5 separate regions of the Homo sapiens genome follow, and regions 2, 3, 4 and 5 are each linked to region 1. Evidence: promoter capture Hi-C in human tissues and cell types (Jung and others, 2019). All regions are on one chromosome and are shown on one strand. The core of a region is centred on a gene start or on the middle of the fragment in contact, and the rest is flanking DNA. Distances in the headings are between cores, read along the strand shown.

Region 1 (2,700 bases), core at 176-2,675:
TCAGCGGGACACAGCACCTTCTAGTAAACATGACTACATGGGTTGCTGGCTGGGTGTGGGCTCCTGGGGAGGGGAGTGCCCGGGTTGGGGGTGGGGAGAGAACTGTACTCAACAGAAACAACAACGATGACAACGACAACGACAAAGACAAGACTACAGGACCTGCTCCCAGAACCCTGGGATGGGCCAGCCCCGGGCCTGCGGAATCCCACTGAATCCCATAACCACGGTGTTACACCAGATTTACAGAAGGGGAGGGCGGGGCTCTGAGAGAAGTGACTTGTCCAAGGTCACATGCTGCACAGGTGCAATATTAACCACTTTGACACCAATAATGAGCTTGCCTTTGGTGAGCACACATATGCAGAGTCCCACAGAATCCTCGCATCTGTCCTGGGAGGCAGGAATACTGATCCCATTTTTCAGACTGAGAAACTGAGGCCCAGTGAGATGAAGGCCCCTCCCCCAAGGTCACAGGAGGGCACATTCCCACCCACACCTGACCCTAGGTCTTCCCATGATGTTGAGTTGCCTGTTACTCTCTGCCCCTAAACGGATAGGACTTCTTCCAATCTCAGCATCGTGGGCCTGGACAGCTTCCCAGCCAGACCCCAGCCCTCTCTCCATCCCCCAGGCCCAGGGACCAAGGAAACAGACCTCCCGTGGAGCAGAAAAGAAACAACTCCTGGCTTCCGGCCTGACTATCCAAACGTGTGAAATGGCCATGAGGGACTCATGGCACCAGCCGCCCATTGCACAGGTGCGGAGACTGAGGCTCGGAGAAGGGGTTGTGGTGGACGCATGAGTCCCTGGGCCTGGGACCCAGGTCGCTAAATGCCCCGCCAGGCGCCAGTCACTGCTGGACAAGGGCAGGGAGGTAGCACCCAGCCGGTGCCTCCTCCCCTCCTCAGCCAGGCAGGCGCCAGGGGAGCAGGGTAACCCAACCAGCCCAAAGGGTGGGCACCGGTGCCTCGCCCCAGGCAGCAGGGCCAAGGCCCGGCTCGGGCCGCACGGGCTCTTTCCCTCTTCCGGTCAGCAAGGGCTCAGGGGGGCAGAGGTGTGCCGCGGCGGGGACGAGGGCAGCAGCCCGGGAGGGCTTTCCCGCGTCCCCAGGCGTCTGCCGCAGGGTGCTCCCCGCCCGCCGCACATCCGGGCCCCCGGCGCACGGCGCGACGCCAGGCCTCACCTGCACCGCCCGGGTGAAGAAGATGCCCGCGTCCGACGCCAGCTTCTTCATGTTGAAGTCCATGGCGTGCCCGCACGGCCGCCGCGCACGGCCCGAGCGCAGCCGGCAGCCCCCGGCCCAGCCGCCGCCGCCAACCGCACCCCGCCCACCTGCTGCGGGGCACCAGCCCTCCGCGCACCCGCCTGCCGGCCTGCCCGCCTGCCCGCCCGCCGCAGCCGCCGAGCCAGCCCGAGCGCGCAGGGCGGGGCGCGGAGGCCGCGGGTCGGAGCCAGAGGGGCGGGGGCGGAGCTGGCGGTGCCGGGGCGGGACGGGACGGCAGTGGGGCGGAGCTAGAGGGGCGGGGGCCGGGCTGGTTGGCGGAAGCCGGGCGGAGTCGGAGGGGGCGGGACTGGCGGGACAGGGGCGGAGCGAGAGGGCAGTGGGGCGGAGCTACATGGGTGGGGGCGAGGCCTTGGCGCGGCCAGAGCGGGGGTTGGTCTGGGGAGCAGGTTGTGCTGGGCAGGGCTCGCTGCTGGGCAGTGCTCGCTGCTGCCCCCATGCGCCTGCCGCCGCGGATTGGGCCGGCCTCTTTTTTTCCTTTTACTAAAATTATTAAAACTGGAACACATGTGCTCTTAGATGATTGCAGGTACACGCCATAATTACATATTATTTGCCATCTTACCAATGCTTTTCAAAAGTTTTAATTGATAAATATATATTTACGGCCTACAAGGTGATGAAATTGTGGAATGATGAAATCAAGTTAATTGACATATCCATCACCTCACCTACTTTTTTTGTGGTTAGAACATTTCAAATGTACTCTTTTAGCAATTTTGAAATATGCAATACTTTTTTTTTTTTTTTGTAGACAGAGTCTTGCTCTGTCGCCCAGGCTGGAGTGCAGTGGCGCGATCTCGGCTCACTGCAGCCTCCACCTGCCGGGCTCAAGCGATTCTCCTGCTTCATTCAGCCTCCCGAGTAGCTGGGACTACAGGCGCCCACCAACATGCCCCGCTAATTTTTTGTACTTTAGGAGAGACAAGGTTTTGCCATGTTGCCCAGGGTGGTCTTGAACTCCTGATCTCAGGCAATCTGCCTGCCTCAGTCTCCCAAAGTCACTAAGTGACTGAGTAGTCACCAATATGTGCAACAGATCTCTAAAATGGGCCTCTCTTGCTTTCTCCTCCCACCACCCAGGCCTGCTGCCTCTCCCCTGTTTGTGCCTCTTCATCTCCGCTCTTTATTCACACCCCCTCCCTCCCATTCCCATTTCTTCCACTCTGTTTCCCTTGGGTTTCCTCCCGTTACTCCTCCTCTCTGACCTCTCCTCCTCTCTTCTGCCCTGACCTTGGTGACTGAGCCGGAGTCAGGCTTGGGACTTGCCCTCCACCGCTGGAACAGCTGTTTGTCAGCCTGGGAGGCCCTGTGGCTTCCCCAAATTGGAGGAGGGTTGGGGTGGCGGTCACGGGAAGGGAGGGGGTTCTGGAGCTGGGGCCTGGAGCCCCCTGTGTGGTGAGAGGAGGAGATCA
Region 2 (2,762 bases), core at 70-2,569, 260 kb before region 1:
CTTCTCTATTTTTCTCCAAACCACTTATTACCTCCTTACATATCATGTTTATTATTTGCTGAATGAACAAATGAACCAAAGTAGCGAGGCCCTTCACCCCTGGCCACCACTTTCTGCTCTAAGTATAGCCTCCCGTGACCCTTTTCAAGGCTATGCTTTTATGCTCATCCTAACCAGTTTGAAGTCTGAAGAGAAACATTCTGTGAAAGATCATATATGGAAGGATTTTCCCAAGACATCAGACATTCCATTCCCCTCCCCCTTAAAAATCAAATGCACTAGCTGAGCGCGGTGGCTCATGCCTGTATTTCCAGCACTTTTGGAGGCTGGAGCGGGCGGATCACTTGAGCCCAGGAGTTCGAGACCAGCTTGGGTAACATAGTGAGACCCCATCTCTATTTAAAGAAAAACAAAACAAAACAAAACGAATGGACTGACAAACACAGGCAAAGACTGGAAATCTTGGGCTCTTTCGGTCAAAGAGCAGCCAAGACAAGTTCCACCCAGAGAGCTATAGTGGCCAGCACAGTCAGTTTCACTATCAACTCACCTGTCGGGCTCCCTTGGCCCTCCGGTTGCAACCTCACCCTGTTGGATTTCCCTATACTTTGTGTCATCCCTTTTGGGAGCTGATCCAGAATCCAAGTCGTCCTTGAGCTTCTAAGCACTTCTCTGGGGGAACTTAAGCTCATCCAACAGGTAGGAGGGGCAGAGGGTGGCCCTTTCAGCCCTACACCGATCCCCCATCTTGTAGGGGCAAACGACAGAGCGTCATTTTCTTTCTGGAGGAAGGGAGCTCAGTTTTAAAGACACGATTCTCAGACCTGGCGGCAGGGATAGAGAAAGGAACCCTCCCACCACTGGCGGAGATGGACCTCAGAGAGTGGTTGCAGCGGCGATGCTTAGGCCCCGTAGGCAGGAGGCGAAGGAGGAGGACGCAGGTACGTCCCTTGGCCCGGGGTCCGGGACCTACCCTGGACGGGGCTGCCCTCAGCGTCGGGAAGCGGACGTGATGCTTCGCAGGCGAGGAGGAGCAGAGAATGCAGCCCGGGAGAATCCGGGGCCAGAGCACCTCAGGAGGTTGGGGATCTCGTCAGGCTAGAGCCGGGGTCCAGGGGAGACGGGGGTCGGCGGGGCGGAGCTTGGGATCCCGGGGACGGGAGCTCCGGGAGGGAGGGGGTCGCGACGGGGACCCCGTGGCGGTTACCTTGCCCTTAGGGCTGCCGGCGGGGCTGAGGCTCCTGGGCCCGGCCCCTCCCCCGATCCGGCTCCTACGGCTCGGAGCCTGCAGCCGCCGCCGCCTCCGCTGTCAACAAACCCGGGGCGCGTCACTTCCGGGGCCGCCCCTTAGCAACAGCGATCGGGTTCCCCCGACCCGTCCCGCGGCTAACGCGGGCGGCGGCGGCAGAAGGTTCCGGGGACCGGCGGGCGGCTCCTTTCCCCGGGCCCGGCACGTTACGCCGGTGGAGGAAGCCGCGGGATGCCCCCCCCAGGCCACCCGAGAGAACGCGTCATTCAGGGCTCTCCCTGGCCTCCGAGGGGCCTGTTCGTGGGACCCTAGGATCGGTGCCCGCCCTGGCGCTGCGGTTCACCTGAGCCCAACACTGCTGAATAGCAGGACTGACTCTGGGCGCCAGCCCCCTCCATCCAGCGCCCTGTTGAACATGTCTTGCGTTCTCCACGGGTGGCTCACACTCGCGTGTCAACCCGCAGTCATCACCGTCCCCCAAAAGGTGCTCCTAACCTCCATCTAGGGCATGCGCCACCAGGCAACCGAGCTTCCAAATGGGAAATTGGGCGGCGACCTCGGCCCCTACATTTTCCTGGGCCCCTCGTCCAGTCTCCAAGTCCTAAGGATCCTGTCAAACCAGTTCCTTCTGGCCGAGCGCAGTGGCTCACGCCTGTAATCCCAGCACTTTGGGAGGCCGAGGCACGCGGATCACCTGAGGTCAAGAGTTCGAGACCAGCCTGGCCAACATGGTGAAACGCCGTCTTTACTAAAAATACAAAAATTAGCCGAGCGTGGTGGTGCGCGCCTCTAATCCCAGCTACTCAGGAGACTGAAGCAGGAGAATCGTTTGAACCCAGGAGGCAGAGCTTGCAGTAAGCTGAGATCGCACCACTGCACTCCAGCCTGGGCGACAGAGGAAGACTCCATCTCAAAACACCATCATTTCTTCTCTGGATTTCTCTTTTTTTTTTTTTTTTTTGAGAGACGGAGTTTCTCTCTCTTGTTGCCCAGGCTGGCGGGCAATGGCCCTCAGCTCACTGCAGACTCCCCGGGTTCAAGCAATTCTCCTGCCTCAGCCTCCAAGTAGCTGGGATTACAGGCGCCTACTATCACGTCTGGCTAATTTTTGTATTTTTAGTAGAGATGGGGTTTCGCCATGTTGGGCAGGCTGGTCTCAAACTCTTGACCTCAGGTGATGCGCCCACCTCAGCCTCCCAAAGTGCTGGGATTACAGGCGTGAGCTACCACACCCTAGCTAGATGCTCCTTTCTTGAGGAACCCTTTCTTGACAGGTGCCTCAGTTCCATTCCAAGAACTAATTTTGTGGATTTCTTTTTTCTTGCATAGCACCTTTTAATCTTTGACCAGCTACAACTATGTTCGTACAGTCTTGAATCCTTAAAAAAGCTGTTGGGCTTGGCACAGTGACTCACAACCTATAATCTCAGCAGATGGGGTTGTCGAGGCTGAGGCTTGAGCCCAGGAGTTGGAGATCAGCCTGGGCAACATAGGGAGACCCCATTTCTACAAA
Region 3 (2,700 bases), core at 81-2,580, 330 kb before region 1:
CAGGCTGGTCTTGAACTCCTGACCTTAAGTGATCTGCCCTCCTCAGCCTCCCAAAGTGCTGGGATTACAGGCATGAGCCACCATGCCCAGCCAACCCCCATGTCAAAGAACCTACTATGTGCCAGGTGCTTCTGCTAATGTCTAGACCTCAACAACTCTAATGTGTAAATGTCACATTTCGCCTCTGATTATGAAATCTGGGCATGTTTCACAGAGCCAAGTTGCCTTTGCTTATATGTCAATGCCACTTGGGTGATTTCCCATAGCAGGACAACCCAGTGTTGTCCATGGCTCACCAATTTCACTTTTTTCCAGTCCATTATGAAGGAAGTGATTAGTGCAAAGCACAACATGTGGCTTCCTTCATTCAGTAAGAGCACCAGAGCCTGTCTGTTCCAAGTCACTGTCGGTATTTGACCCTTCATCACCTTCCCACCTCCTGGAGGACGCTCCTCCACGAAGTGCTGACACAACCTCCTGTAAACGCAGGATGCCAGGACGGGCTGAATGGCCCGCCATAGACTAGGCAGTGACCAGCACACCTCCCTTGGGCTGAAATAGTGGCGGCTATTTCACCAGGTGTAAATGGCTTTTCTCCCGTGTGGATGGATGGGCTTTTTAGGGTAAAGCCCTAAAAAGTGGCACGGGCTGAACCAGCAAGCTCAGTCTGAGTAAGAGATGGGCCGGAGAGAGGTCTGGTTCATTCATCTGTAATTTGTAATTTATCATAATTTTGGGTGAGGATTTACTTTTCCACAAGTATACGTTCTTTTTTTTTTTTTTTTTTTTTTTTTGAGATGGAGTCTCGCTCTGTCACCCAGGTTGGAGGGCAGTGGCAGGATCTCGGCTCACTGCAACCTCCGCCTACTGGGTACAAGTGATTCTCCCACCTCAGCCTCCTGAGTAGCTGGGATTACAGGCGCCCGCCACCACGACCGGCTAATTTTTGTATTTTTAGTAGAGACGGGGGTTTCACCATGTTGGCCAGGCTGGTCTCGAACTCCTGACCTCGTGATCCGTCCACCTCTGCCTCCCAAACTGCTGGGATTACAGGCGTGAGCCACCGCACCTGGCCTAGTATACATTCTTGTAGTGACTAATATCTAGTCTGGGCCAACCACTCCGAGGAGAGAGACAATTTTGGATTAGCCCACATTACACCAACAACGTGCGAGACAAAGAGAGACTTGAGGGGCTTGGTCGAGGAGGCCCAGCGCGTTAGAGGCGGGAGCCAGGTTGTAGAGGGGCTCAAAGTTAGAGGAGGCGGCCAGCTCCACCGGCTGCACCCGGCTGGGCGACCCGGCAACCTTCAGGGGGCGCTGTTTCCCCCATCCCTGTCCCTAACTGGCCGGCTCCCGCGGGCGCGCGGCGGGGAAGGCCAGAGGACCTGGGCGCGGGCGATGTGCCTCCTGAGCGTCCAAACCGGGGGTGAGGCGCGGTCACGCCCAGCGGGAACCGCAGGCGCCGAAGCCCGGGTACTGGGCCCAGAATCCCGCGGAATTTTGGATCCGAGGGAGGCGCTGGGGCGCGGGACCTCGGGCGTGGGGTCCCGGGCGCTGGATCGGCGCGGACGGGAGGCGGCGCTGGTCCCGCGGGCCAGCGGGTCTCGGGAGGGGGCGCCCGATCCCGCGTCTCCGGCGCCGCTTCCCGGGAAGTTTCAAGTTTGAAAGTCCTGGCGGAGGGTCTGCGGCTTCCGGGACCGGAGTGGCTGAGAGAAGGGCCCCAAGCGGCCGGAGCGGCGCCATGGAGGAGGGGGCGCCGCGGCAGGTGAACGGCGTGGGAGGGGCGCGCGGGCCCGGGGGGTGCGAGAAAGCCTCTGTCATCGCCCCGGAGCCCCGAACCGCGGCCGCTTCCCCCGATCCTCCCCTCACCCGCGCCCCTTCCCTGCCCCTGCCCTGGCCCCGGCCCCGCGACGCCCTCGCAGAGCAGACCTGATCTCCGGGTTCGGTGGTTCCTGGACCTTGCACAGTCTCCAAATCAGTCCGCGGCTGACCCGGAGACTGAACCCCAACCAGCCCGTGAGCGAGGACGGCTGAGTCCGCAGTGTGCGCCACCAGGGTGGTCCCCAGAGTGTCCTTAAGTCGGTTCTCCTCGGTGGGGCTCCAAGGCCGACGGGAATTAGCCGGGATAGAAAGGCGGGGCACAGGGGCCTGGGGGGGTTAGAATGTGCGCGCAGCGGGGGGCGCAGTCTGTGCGCGCTTGGCAGTGGCAGGAGTCCTTCCCGGAGCACAGGAGGCACGAGGGGAGCGTAGATGAGAGGGGAGCGGCCTCCCCCGCCCCAGGGCGGGAACCTTTGGGTACATAGCGGGTTCTAGAATGCGGAGGGGGCTGGGTTTCCTGCCAGAGCTGGCAGTAGGTGCGCGTGGGCCCGGAGGACCGAGGCCATGTCTATCTGCTCCTGAGGAGGGAGAGGTGGTGTCCTGTTCCGGAGCGAGTGGTTGGGAGGGGGGCATTTGCGGACAGGAGTGGGTCCCCGCAAAGAGCGGAAAGGAGGTGGTGTGTGTGTCCATGTTGGAGTTCCAACCCAGGGCAGACGGGACCATGGGGGTGTTGCGGGGTGCGTGTAGACTCCTTGAGCGCCCAAGCCAGTCGTTTAGGCCGCCTTCAGGGCTGGGGCTCGGTCTGCCCCCTCCCACCCCCTTCCTCTGGAGGTCCCTCCGCCTGTTCCAGACGTAGCTTGTACACATTTTCCGATTTCCT
Region 4 (2,876 bases), core at 307-2,806, 420 kb before region 1:
TCAAATGTATGCCCAGGCCTAGGGCTTCAAGGGTTAATCCTAAAGAAAGGCTTTTTCTTTTTTTTCTTTTTTTTTTAGAGACAGGGTTGCACCACATTGCCCAAACTGATCTTGAATTCCTGAGCTCAAGCGATCCTCCTGCCTCAGCCTCCCAAAGTGCTGGGATTACAGGCATGAGCCACCACGCCTGGCCAACAAAAGCTTTTTCATTTGAAGCTATCAAAGACTTAATTGTAGCTAGAACTTGTTATTCTGGAGGGTGAAAAGATCTTAATTATAAGCCTACTGACTTTTCCTCTGAGAAATTCGGACTTTTAAAAAAATAACAAGAAGTTTTTTAACACTTTGCCCAAAGACCTAGCCTCATTCAGTAGATCAGATTAACCCAAGATAACTTTCTGAGGCAAGAATTATGTCATTCTCTGTTTTCCTGGGCAGAAGATCTCCTTACCAGGTAATATAATAGCTATTTTTCTGGGGTGCTGGTTTCCAGGGACCTCATGTCTTGGATCAATGGAATACGGGGGTTGGTGTCCTCAGATGAGCTAGCCAAGGATGTCACCGGAGCTGAGGCATTGCTGGAGCGACACCAGGTGGGTGGACCTGCCTGCTGAGTAGCAAAGACGTGGCTGCTCTGCAGGGCCCTAGAGGCCTCATTCCCACCCTTTGTGGTGAGTCGGTGGTTGACGTCAGAGTGGGCATCTGCTGCCAGTTACCTAATCCCTTCCCTCCTTTTGGCAGGAACACCGGACAGAAATCGATGCCAGGGCTGGCACTTTCCAGGCATTTGAGCAGTTTGGACAGCAGCTGTTGGCTCACGGACACTATGCCAGCCCTGAGATCAAGCAGAAACTTGATATTCTTGACCAGGAGCGTGCAGACCTGGAGAAGGCCTGGGTTCAGCGCAGGATGATGCTGGATCAGTGCCTTGAACTGCAGGTGTGTGTGCTCCTGGTTTCTGACCAAGTGTTTCCTTGCTGAAGGGCCTCATTTTCTCACCTGCCTCTTGCCCTCTTTAGCTGTTCCATCGGGACTGTGAGCAAGCTGAGAACTGGATGGCTGCCCGGGAGGCCTTCTTGAATACCGAAGACAAAGGAGACTCACTGGACAGCGTAGAGGCTCTGATCAAAAAACATGAAGACTTTGACAAAGCGATTAACGTCCAGGTGAGGCCTCTGGACCATGGAGTTGGAGTCTGGATTTTTCCTGATTGACATCTGTTTCTTGGCTTATATAGTCACTGTTATATCTCCAAGGAATACCTGCGTTGTCTAAGAAAAATATGTACATAAATAATCTTTAAAACTTTATAGATTCTGGTATTTCTGAGATTTTAATAATGGGGGTGCCACAGGAAAAAAAAATATTATCAAAGGGATGGAAAACAAATGTGTGGGTAGGTAAGGGAATAATGAACAAACAACAAGGAAGATGTAAAACTGTTTGATTTATACGTCACTTTGCTGTAAATCTGACAGCATTTTCCTATTATCAGGCTTAATTTTGTTCTGTTCTGATATTCTAACACCTGCCCCACCTGAGTGACCTGGAGACTTCTTGAGTTAAACTCTACTCTAGTAATGAATGAAATCAAGCTTTCTTTTGGCATTTTACACTCTTGCTTCTAAAGTGTCAGTGTATTCTGATCCTGCCACCAGCTAGTTCTCAGTCACCCAAAATAACTATCCTTTTCTCAAGACTGGCAGTCCAGGCAGGGCCCAGCCACAGGCCCACCTTGATCTCATGCCTTTGTTTTCTGACAGGAAGAGAAGATTGCTGCTCTGCAGGCCTTTGCCGACCAGCTCATCGCTGCCGGCCATTATGCCAAGGGAGACATTTCTAGCCGGCGCAATGAGGTCTTGGACAGGTGGGTGTCCTGTGGCACTGACATAGTCACCAGCCCTGAGAGGATGCATCCCCTCATACGAAGGCCCAGGCCTGTTCTGTCTCCCCACTTCCTTCTCCACGGTAAGATATGCTCATGTTGGATCTCATGGTTTCACTCTTTCAGGTGGCGACGTCTGAAAGCCCAGATGATTGAGAAAAGGTCAAAGCTAGGAGAATCTCAAACCCTCCAACAGTTCAGCCGGGATGTGGATGAGATTGAGGCTTGGATCAGTGAAAAATTGCAAACAGCGAGTGATGAGTCGTACAAGGATCCCACCAACATCCAGGTAAGCTGAAGTGACTGGGTGTTGGTCTTGATGTAGCCTTATGTTATTGAGTAGATTTTGTTAAATAAAGCATTTATAAAACAATCTCCTTGCACCCATGGGAAGTCAGTGAGAAATATTTCAGTAAGCCCAGCCAGTGGGAAAGCCCTAGTCAAGTTTCAGAGCCATTTAAAAGTTGCCTTCCTCATTTGTCTCCATTAAAACTATTTCTGCTGTAATAAAAGTCTATAGAATCCCCCTTCTATTACTGTTCCCAAATGCTGAGCTTCCTGGGGGAAGTATGACAAAATGAGTTTCTATTTAATAGCTGATATGTGTGTCCACATCAGTGTACTGAACTCTTGTTCTTTTAATCTGTTTTTGTAGCTTTCCAAGCTGCTGGTAAGTTTTTAATTTTTTTAAGAGTTGTAGTTAAATGAGCTCCAGTATTTGTGTTACTCTGCGTAGATTATTGTTATTATTGTGGTCACACGGTTTGCTGGTGTCTCTTCATCCATCCTTTTCATTTCTAATCATCCATTACACTCCATTCAAGTGTCCCTGTGGGATGTGGCTTTTTCTGTTGTAATTAGCCTGCAACGCCTTACTCCCCCTTCTCTCCCCCAGTTTATCACTTAGGCAAATTCTGTACAGTGTTTGATTTGCGGGGCAGTAATTGACCATTTTCTTTCAAGGAGTGCTTCCTTTTGAAGATGGAACATC
Region 5 (2,705 bases), core at 1-2,500, 400 kb before region 1:
GGAGGAGGCTGCCGCAGTGATCTGCGGTCTGAAGGAGAGCAGGAAAGGGGGCATGTGTGACTGAGTCTCAGCAGTGTCCAGGTGGACAGTTTGGCTTGGGCATCTGGGGGACATGCTGGTGCCATCTGAGCCTAGGAAGAGCAAGTTCCAGTCCTGTGGAGTCACCACAAATTGGCTTGTCACTCCTTGTTCAGGAAACTTTTGACGCTGGGCTGCAGGCCTTCCAGCAGGAAGGCATTGCCAACATCACTGCCCTCAAAGATCAGCTTCTCGCCGCCAAACACGTTCAGTCCAAGGCCATCGAGGCCCGGCACGCCTCCCTCATGAAGAGGTGGAGCCAGCTTCTGGCCAACTCAGCCGCCCGCAAGAAGAAGCTTCTGGAGGCTCAGAGTCACTTCCGCAAGGTGAGGATGGGGCCACGTGAAGCTTAGCTGGCCCACAGCTCAAGGAAGGACGCCCACCTTCTGTCTGCCCAGCTCTGCCACTCCCCCTTGAGGAAGCTGTGAGCTCAGTGCAGAGCTTTCAAACATGGGTGTGGCTGGCATCAATTAAAACCAGGGCAAATGAGAGGGCCCTGTGAGATCGCCATTCAGAAGCACGCAGGACAGACTAGAGACAAGGGCAAAGGGTAGGAAGGGGAAAAAAGGCTGGTGAAGACTTGAAGGGGGAGCAGGAGACAGGAGCAGAGGGGAGCTAAGCTCCCAGCAGGCTGTGTGCGCCTCTGATTCCCAGGAACCACCCCGCACCCCACCTCCTGCACTGCGTCGGCACGTCCAGCCCTGGCGACTCCGCCAACTCAGTCTCTTCTGCTTCCAGGTGGAGGACCTCTTCCTGACCTTCGCCAAAAAGGCTTCTGCCTTCAACAGCTGGTTTGAAAATGCAGAGGAGGACTTAACAGACCCCGTGCGCTGCAACTCCTTGGAAGAAATCAAAGCTTTGCGCGAGGCCCACGACGCCTTCCGCTCCTCCCTCAGCTCTGCCCAGGCTGACTTCAACCAGCTGGCCGAGCTGGACCGCCAGATCAAGAGCTTCCGCGTAGCCTCCAACCCCTACACCTGGTTTACCATGGAGGCCCTGGAGGAGACCTGGAGGAACCTACAGAAAATCATCAAGGTACACCTCCCGCTGCCCTCAGGAGCTGCTCGGCCTCCCAGAGCCCTCTCTGGGCCCTGCTCAGAGCCCACACTTAACTGAGTCACGACAAGACGAGCAGGATGGAGGAGCATGGTTTCATCAGAAGTTTCATTTCTTTTTGTGTTCTTGAGGCAGGGTCTCTGTCACCCAGGCTTCAGTGCAGTGGTGCTACCATGGCTCCCTGTAGCCTCAACCTCCCAGGCTCAGGTGATCCTCTTGCCTGAGCCTCTTGAATAACTGGGACTACAAGCACGTGCCACCACGCCTGGCTAATTATTTTAATTTTTGTAGACAGGGTGTTGCTATGTTGCCCAGGCTGGTCTTCAACTCCTGGCCTCAAGCAGTCCTCCTGCCCAGGCCTCCCAAAGTGCTGGGATTACAGGTGTGAGCCACTGTACCCAGCCAGAAGTTTCCATTTCTGACAGTCCAGCAACTCCCTGCTTGACTGACCAGTCGCTTCCCTCCAGGTCCGCCTCTTCCTTGAAGCCCCTGGGGGGTGGGAACAGAGAAAGAACTACCAAGTGCTCTGAGCCGGCCTCATGTCTCCCAGCCTCCTCCTCTCATCTTTGGGGAGGTTCCTTGTGGGGAGGCCACCACCACCCTGAGCCCATCTGTGAAGGAGGGGCTGGTGTCACTGCCACAGCAGCGCACAGCATCTGCCCCCCTTTGGCCCTCAGGAGAGGGAGCTGGAGCTGCAGAAGGAACAGCGGCGGCAGGAGGAGAACGACAAGCTGCGCCAGGAGTTTGCCCAGCACGCCAACGCCTTCCACCAGTGGATCCAAGAGACCAGGTGCCAGCCCGCTGGGGCCGGGGAGCAGCAGCATGTCCCTGCTGTACTTAAGCCCTGGGGAGCTTCCAGCCCCAAGGAGGTGGTGGTGCTTTGTGTAAAACCAGAGGCAGCCTGGGAATAAAGCTGGGCTGGCAACGCCTGGTCGGGCTCTGGAGCCGGGAGTGGGGGCATAGGTGGAGCAGCCTCTCAGTGCTGCATGTCCCAGACATCAAGTTGTTAGAGATCCCGGATTGAGTGGGACCATGCAGGGCGCGTGGTCAGCCCCAGCCATGACTTGGTGACAGACGATGCAGGGTCTGTGCGTTGGGTACTGATGTTCTTGCTTTTGTTTTCCTTTCTTTCTTGTGTCTTCTCTCTGTCCCCCCGATTGCTGCTGTTGTCCGGACACCACCTTGTCTCCCGGCTGCTTGGATCTGCTCTCCACAGGACATACCTCCTCGATGGGTTAATATTGTTTTCTTCCTTCTCTGGGCTTGTCATGTGGGGGTCTCGTGCGCTTGCCCCTCGTGGCCTGGCTTGTGGAGGATCCCGGGATGGGCCTTCCTGCCCAGGGCGGGCTGCACTTCCCCTCCCACCCTTCTCGTCACCTGATGAGGAGTGTGTGCCTTGCCCCATAGCCCATGGTCCCTGGTCCCCGATAGAGCCTTCAAGCCAGGGGGAGCCGTCCTTGCCTCACTGGGCGATTCCAAGGGCTCACTTTGGGTAGGGAAGGTGATGAAGCACGAAGGCCAGAGCTGGAGTCCAGAGGCCCTAAGAACCCCCGTGCCTGTCCAGCCACCGG

What was found. The method cuts DNA at HindIII sites, captures the fragments that hold promoters and counts their contacts. A contact is called where the count stands out against the background at its distance.
Region 2: the fragment with the promoter of ZER1 here is called in contact with the fragment with the promoter of SH3GLB2 in region 1 in 1 of the 25 tissues and cell types used here (dorsolateral prefrontal cortex).
Region 3: the fragment with the promoter of PKN3 here is called in contact with the fragment with the promoter of SH3GLB2 in region 1 in 2 of the 25 tissues and cell types used here (dorsolateral prefrontal cortex and stomach).
Region 4: a contact is called between a fragment that was not itself captured here and the fragment with the promoter of SH3GLB2 in region 1, in 1 of the 25 tissues and cell types used here (dorsolateral prefrontal cortex).
Region 5: a contact is called between a fragment that was not itself captured here and the fragment with the promoter of SH3GLB2 in region 1, in 1 of the 25 tissues and cell types used here (lymphoblastoid cells).

What each region holds. Positions count from the first base shown.
Region 1 is chr9:129,026,906-129,029,605 of GRCh38, forward strand. SH3GLB2 (SH3 domain containing GRB2 like, endophilin B2) reads right to left here and starts at 1,426. Exons shown (of 11, transcript NM_020145.4): 1 at 1,187-1,426. The coding sequence starts at 1,249. RefSeq lists enhancers at 1-414, 415-978, 1,663-2,402, 2,403-2,700 and silencers at 809-1,318, 1,359-1,788. The HindIII fragment of the contact is 26,388 bases long and covers 1-2,700 here.
Region 2 is chr9:128,770,608-128,773,369 of GRCh38, forward strand. ZER1 (zyg-11 related cell cycle regulator) reads right to left here and starts at 1,320. Exons shown (of 16, transcript NM_006336.4): 1 at 974-1,320. LOC124902282 (a long non-coding RNA gene) reads left to right here and starts at 727. Exons shown (of 2, transcript XR_007061804.1): 1 at 727-941. RefSeq lists enhancers at 907-956, 1,685-2,411 and a silencer at 1,147-1,616. The HindIII fragment of the contact is 13,726 bases long and covers 1-2,762 here.
Region 3 is chr9:128,701,173-128,703,872 of GRCh38, forward strand. PKN3 (protein kinase N3) reads left to right here and starts at 1,331. Exons shown (of 22, transcript NM_013355.5): 1 at 1,331-1,767. The coding sequence starts at 1,744. RefSeq lists a silencer at 1,224-1,793 and an enhancer at 1,608-2,147. The HindIII fragment of the contact is 13,608 bases long and covers 1-2,700 here.
Region 4 is chr9:128,607,111-128,609,986 of GRCh38, forward strand. SPTAN1 (spectrin alpha, non-erythrocytic 1) reads left to right here. Exons shown (of 57, transcript NM_001130438.3): 32 at 494-593; 33 at 742-939; 34 at 1,020-1,166; 35 at 1,764-1,867; 36 at 2,012-2,174; 37 at 2,541-2,555. Among named protein-coding and RNA genes, the nearest start is that of DYNC2I2, 48 kb to the right of the region's middle. The HindIII fragment of the contact is 5,536 bases long and covers 1-2,876 here.
Region 5 is chr9:128,625,575-128,628,279 of GRCh38, forward strand. It overlaps SPTAN1 (spectrin alpha, non-erythrocytic 1), which reads left to right. Exons shown (of 57, transcript NM_001130438.3): 48 at 195-404; 49 at 817-1,113; 50 at 1,812-1,924; 51 at 2,351-2,368. Among named protein-coding and RNA genes, the nearest start is that of DYNC2I2, 30 kb to the right of the region's middle. RefSeq lists an enhancer at 1,448-2,093. The HindIII fragment of the contact is 6,522 bases long and covers 1-2,705 here.